Linked DNA regions of Homo sapiens: region 2 is linked to region 1. Evidence: promoter capture Hi-C in human tissues and cell types (Jung and others, 2019). All regions are on one chromosome and are shown on one strand. The core of a region is centred on a gene start or on the middle of the fragment in contact, and the rest is flanking DNA. Distances in the headings are between cores, read along the strand shown.

Evidence for each region. The method cuts DNA at HindIII sites, captures the fragments that hold promoters and counts their contacts. A contact is called where the count stands out against the background at its distance.
Region 2: a fragment that was not itself captured here is called in contact with the fragment with the promoter of ANKRD12 in region 1 in 1 of the 25 tissues and cell types used here (lymphoblastoid cells).

What each region holds. Positions count from the first base shown.
Region 1 is chr18:9,135,341-9,138,040 of GRCh38, forward strand. ANKRD12 (ankyrin repeat domain 12) reads left to right here and starts at 1,441. Exons shown (of 13, transcript NM_015208.5): 1 at 1,441-1,625. It overlaps NDUFV2-AS1 (NDUFV2 antisense RNA 1), which reads right to left and starts at 1,380. Exons shown (of 3, transcript NR_110772.1): 1 at 1,024-1,380. RefSeq lists silencers at 543-716, 719-808, 1,159-1,508, 1,719-2,118, 2,159-2,208 and enhancers at 999-1,048, 1,539-1,588. The HindIII fragment of the contact is 7,523 bases long and covers 1-1,801 here.
Region 2 is chr18:9,659,552-9,662,251 of GRCh38, forward strand. No RefSeq gene overlaps it. Among named protein-coding and RNA genes, the nearest start is that of LINC02856, 15 kb to the left of the region's middle. The HindIII fragment of the contact is 3,341 bases long and covers 1-2,700 here.

The DNA of each region.
Region 1 (2,700 bases), core at 191-2,690:
TGCCTGGCTGGTCTCAAACTCCTGGGCTCAAGCCATCTGCCCGCCTGAGCCTCCCAAATTGCTGGGATTACAGGCGTGAGCCACTGCGCTCGGCTATAACGATTATTTTTAAGTATGTCTTTAAGATTTTTTTTTTAATTGAGAGAAGGTAAACAACAGTTAATTTTCCAAGTGGCACAAAAAAGTAACAATGAAAATGTCCTACCCTGGAGCTCTCCTGACTTTCTCATAGGCGACTGTTTTTTTCTTTGTATTTCACATCATAAATAACCAAGTTAAATGTAACACTATTCCACCTCTAGCCATAAGGTGCTCTTTTTCTAGTCTTGTTGACCCTAAAGATTTGTAGGTGGGAGAAATCAGGAACCCAGGAAAGGAAAAACTCCTGATCTTTAATGCAGGTTTATGCTTTACATAGTAATTTGATGGGACCTCGCCGTCCCTGTCAGGTCTGAATGTCACTTCATCTGCTGTGATCACACCTGAACCCTCAGTTCATCAAGACGTTAAAGGACAGTGTAACATAAACTTGTAACTGCATGCACTAAGTCATAAACAGACGCTGTTGTTGCAGATTAACCTCTACGTAAATAACGCGCCCAGAAGGGAGTGAGTACACGCTGCTGCCACGCTGCGACGGTCAATTTTCCTCCGGCACCCTTCCTAGTACCTGAGCAGCTCCCTCTCAAATCCCCAACACTACGTGTGGGAGGGTGCACTGAATTCCTCTTTAAAAAGGCCACTGGAAGGCGTGGCTGGGAGGGGACGCGCTCTAGACCCCCTGGTGCCAGGGCAGGTGCACGCTACCGCGCTTTCGGGGCGGGGCCCAGGGCCCCACCTGAGGCGGGGGGCCGCGGGCTCTGGGCGTAGGTGCAGCTTCTCCGGCCTGGTGCGGGGCCAGACGGCCGCCGCCGGCTTAGCGGGGGAACTTCGCCTAGTCCTCGGGCTGCGGTCGCAGCGTCATTTTGCCTGAGTTGGATCACGCTCGTCCACCCACCCCGTGTAAAAATAACAGGTGAATACCCTATGTGGGGGTCCTCATCGCCGCCATTTCCAGAAGCTTCCAGTCACAGCCACTGCCACGGTCGCCACAAATGCTACTGCAGAGCCCGCTTGCCCAGCAGCGTCACCGGCGCCTGCCCTGCCTCTTCGCCCAGCCTTTGATTCCCCCTCCTTTGTCGGATAGTGTCTGCGGCGGGGAGGCGGTGACACTAGTCCGAGTGGGGCGTGGAGACCGACCAGCACGAAGGGCGGAGTTCCGGCCCGCACCCCTCCGCCGCCTGCCGCTTGGTACGTCCCGCTTCCCCGCCCTGCGGCTCGCGGAGCCTGGCTGAGCAGCAGGAGGGGCGGGCGCCGGGGGGCGGGGCGGTCACGCCGCCCGTCCCGTGCCCGCGGTAGTCACGTGTCCGCGGGTGTCACGTGCTCGCGTCGCAGCCAATCGCGGGGCGACGCTGTCCTGGGAGCGAGGAGGCTGTGGTGAGAGACGGACCGAGACCGGAGATGTTTTCAAGCCCGGCTCCGGCGGCTTTACAGGCGGCTGCAGCGGCGACGAAGACAACGACAGCGACGGCTACGCCGAAGCACTCGTTCCGGGGGTGAAGCCTCCTGCGCCGGCCTTGCCTCGGGTCCGTACGGGTGAGGGGGGCGTGGCGACAGGAAAGGAGGAAGGAGGGGCGCGGTTTCGAGCTTGTCCCCGGCGCCAGGGAGGAGATCCCCTCAGTTCTGCGCTGCTCCCGTTCCCCCTCCCCAGAGCAAGGTAGGGGACGCGCCCTGCCCGCCCCCCCCGGTCCCGACGCGCCGCCCGCCCAGCCTGGCCCGAGCCGTAGCTCGCCTGACAGTGACAGGCCGTTAGTGCCCCCCGGCGCGGGTCCGCCGGGGCCCCGCCCGCCGCCGCCCCTCCCGGCGTCGCGAGGAGCCGCGGCGCAGGTGGGAGCCGCCAACTGGGCGGGGGCGCTGCGCGGGGCGGGGCGGGGGCCGGGCGGAGGGCCGCGAGCTGGCCTCGTCGCGGGCGCCCCTCACCGCGGCTGGCGGGGCTGGGCTGCCGCCGCCTCCCGGAACATGGCGGGGCCGGAGGAGCGTGTGCGTGCGAGTGTGAGTGTGCGCGGCCGAGAGGGCGCCGCTGGCGTGCGGCGGTCGGACCCGCGGGGGCGGGGGCGCGCCCGGCCCGCCGCGCGTTCCCGCCGCCAGCCGCCGAGCGTGCGCCGACGCCGGGGAGTCTGCCGCGGCCGCTCGGGCCGGGAGCGTCGGAGGTACCCGGGTCCTGGGAGAGGTGGATGAAATCAAGAAGGGGAAATTGCTGCTTTAGTAGTGTCCGGGGAAAGAGCAGCCACTCTACAGTTCTGTCTTAAATGCCAGTGTAAAATAACCTTGCCGCATTGGACAGGCAGTTCCCGTCATCGTTTTTCAAGTACCCACTTGTGATGCTTCAAGACCCCTGGAGCACGTCAGGTTCTTAGATCTCGTTTTGAGGAGTGATGTGGAGTGACGCATCCTTACAGATCCCAAAGCGTTGAATAAACGGTTGTACAAAGAGGTATGCGAAGCTTAGCTGACAGCTGTTTTAGTAATAACAGTAAGACGCTGTCTGGGATAGGAAGTTACTGTTGCACTCGTTGAAACCTTAGGAAACATTTAAAGCAGTGTAGTCACCGGGATTGTAATTTCCACTGGACACCCGTGGTTAAACTGCGAACTAAGGTG
Region 2 (2,700 bases), core at 75-2,574, 520 kb after region 1:
CTGTTACTGAGGGAAGTTGGGGCAGCAAAGCAGGCTCTCTAGTAGGACACACAGGGGTGCACTGGTGAGAAGAGAAAGCCCAGACCGCTGGCCTCATCACCCTCCCTTAATGCCTCCAACTCATGGGCTGCAGCGCTGGGGACCCTGAGATGAAGAGGTGAGTGTGGCGTGCACGAGTGCACTCGGGGTCCGGAGGAGCCGGAGTCAGGAAGTGCTTCCACCTTTCTGTCCGCATGCTGGGGGAGACCCCTTCAGAGCGGGCCAAAGCAGTACTGTATCCACTCACTGGAGACACTGTAAAGACGAGACCCCACACTCCAGTGCACTGCACCCTCAGAGCCCAGAGCCCCAGCCCAGGAGGAGGATGGGCTGCGCAGGCGTGCACGGCTCCTAGAGCATGGAGGAGCTTTGCGGACACCAAAGTCTTTGAGTTTTACGGCCCCTTGCTTGGTTACGCGGGCTGTTCGCACCGCACCTAAGCTTTAAATGTGTGAATTCCACCCAAATCTGTTCAGAAATTCTAGTTTGGGAAAAGTTATAAATAGATTTCTCATGAACACTGATGGGGAAAAAATGCACACATGTAAACGTACCCATTGGCTGAGGCTGTGAAGACAGAACTGAATAAAAAATTCTTGTTGGCACCAAATACACTGGGAGGTTTTGAAGTAAGCCTCCTGCCTGCCTGGCAAAACGGAAGTGCTGACTGAACTAAGAGTATATTATTCATACAAAAAGCGTGCTTATTGGACGAGGAAACCCTGACCTTAACACTCTTTTTTTCTATTTTTCATTTATAATATTTGATTTAATTAAGAAGCATAAGCCAGGCATGGTGGCTCAAGCCTGTAGTCCCAACATTTTGGGAGGCCGAGGCAGCAGGATTGCTTGAGGCCAGGAGTTCATGACCAGCCTGGGCGGCATAGTGGGACTTTGTCTCTATAAAAACATTTTTTTTTTAAATTAGCCAGGCATGGTGGCACATGCCTGTAGTCCCAGCTACTCAGGAGGCTGAGGTGGGAGGATTGCTGGAGCCTGGAAGATCAAGGCCGCAGTGAGCCCGTGATTGTGCCAATGCACTCCAGCCTGGGCGACTGAGCAGGCCCTGTCTCAAAATAAAAACGAAGGAAGGAAGGAGGGAAGGAAGGAAGGAAGGAAGGAAGGTAATTGTGAATGTTTTCTTGGCAATCTGGCTATCCATGTGGACATCAATGTTGACTATAAAGATCCATTTGGTACTGGGGGCAAAGTTACCAGCTCACTAATGTATGGGCAATTTTCCTAGGAAATCAGTGAGGTTCATTCAGCGTTGGGATCCAGGCTTCATCTTAAACATGGTGACGTGCTGGGCTGTGCTGATGGGGAAAAGAGGCCAGAGCTTGGCCCAAAGTCTCCACTGCCTGGGCAGGAACATTTGAAAAGCCCACACACATGGAGGAGATTGTGGACAGCTTCAGAAATCATTTTGAAGCAGTGGTTTCTCAGCTGTCTACTTACAGCTGCAGAATATGGTGAGAACATTGCCTCCATTTAATATATAATGAAGGATAGGCATTGCAAATGAATGATACGAGAGAGACATCGTCAACAAATGGCATTTACTCATTTGCTTCAAATCCTTCACTAAAAATGAATTTCATTAGAATTAGAAGCCAAGAATAAAATGGCAACCATAGAAAAGCCAGAAGAATCTGTGAAAAAGAAAAAAAAAAAAGAAAAAGACAAAAACGAAAAGCTAGAAGAGAATACAACTGAGTATTAGTGAAACCACTGGTGTGTGTGTTGGGGGTGGCATCTTTTAAGTTTAGAAGAAATCACATAGAAATAATACAGATGTGTTTGCATGATATTTTGAAATTCAATATTTGCAAAAAAAATGGCTGGGAAGTAATGAAAAGTCAATGAGAAATGATCAATTGTCTTAGATCAGGTTCCCTGGAAACCACCTCAGATGAAGCTTTGCACACAAGAAGTTTATTAGGGAGGGTTCTAGAAACAGTATCTGTGAGGCAGTGAGGGCTGCAGGACTGAGCAGAGAGCAAAGCTGGCCTGGGACGCAAGAGTGACTGAGGCCTCAGCTTGTCTTTCAGAATCATCCCAAACTAAGGCAAGGGGGTTGGTGTTCCACTGGATGGATCTTTGGGTGGCCCCTGATTGGGAGCCTAACCATGGGCAAGGCAGCTCCCTTTCCTGAAGGCATCTGCAGAGAGGGAAGCAGTTGCAAAAGTCAGCAGCTCATCCTCCTGGCAGCTGTGAGAATGACAGCATCCATCTTCAAGGGGGGTCTGGGTGGCTCACCCTAGAATTCACTGTAATTATCTAAAGGGCTCATAAAGTTAATAGAAAAAATGATGACTGTAGTAATACACACATTAATAAAGGAGACAAATAGGTAATTCTTAATTTATAAATAGGAAAATGCCCAACGTCACTAGTAATGAAAGAAGTACAAGTCAAACAAAAATAATAAAATGTAACTGTTCGCTAATTCAAATACATAAAACATAACAGGGAGTCCTAGAGGCACTGTGGGTCTGTCTGTGCACATTCCTGGTGGGGTCAATAAATAGTTATAACTGTTGGGCATTGTGTATCACACCTTTAAAAGTGTTCTTGCTCTTTGACCCAGTGATTTCCACCTCAAAAAAGTCTCCCCAGAGAGGCAATACATTATCTGAAAAGGTTATATGCATGAAGATA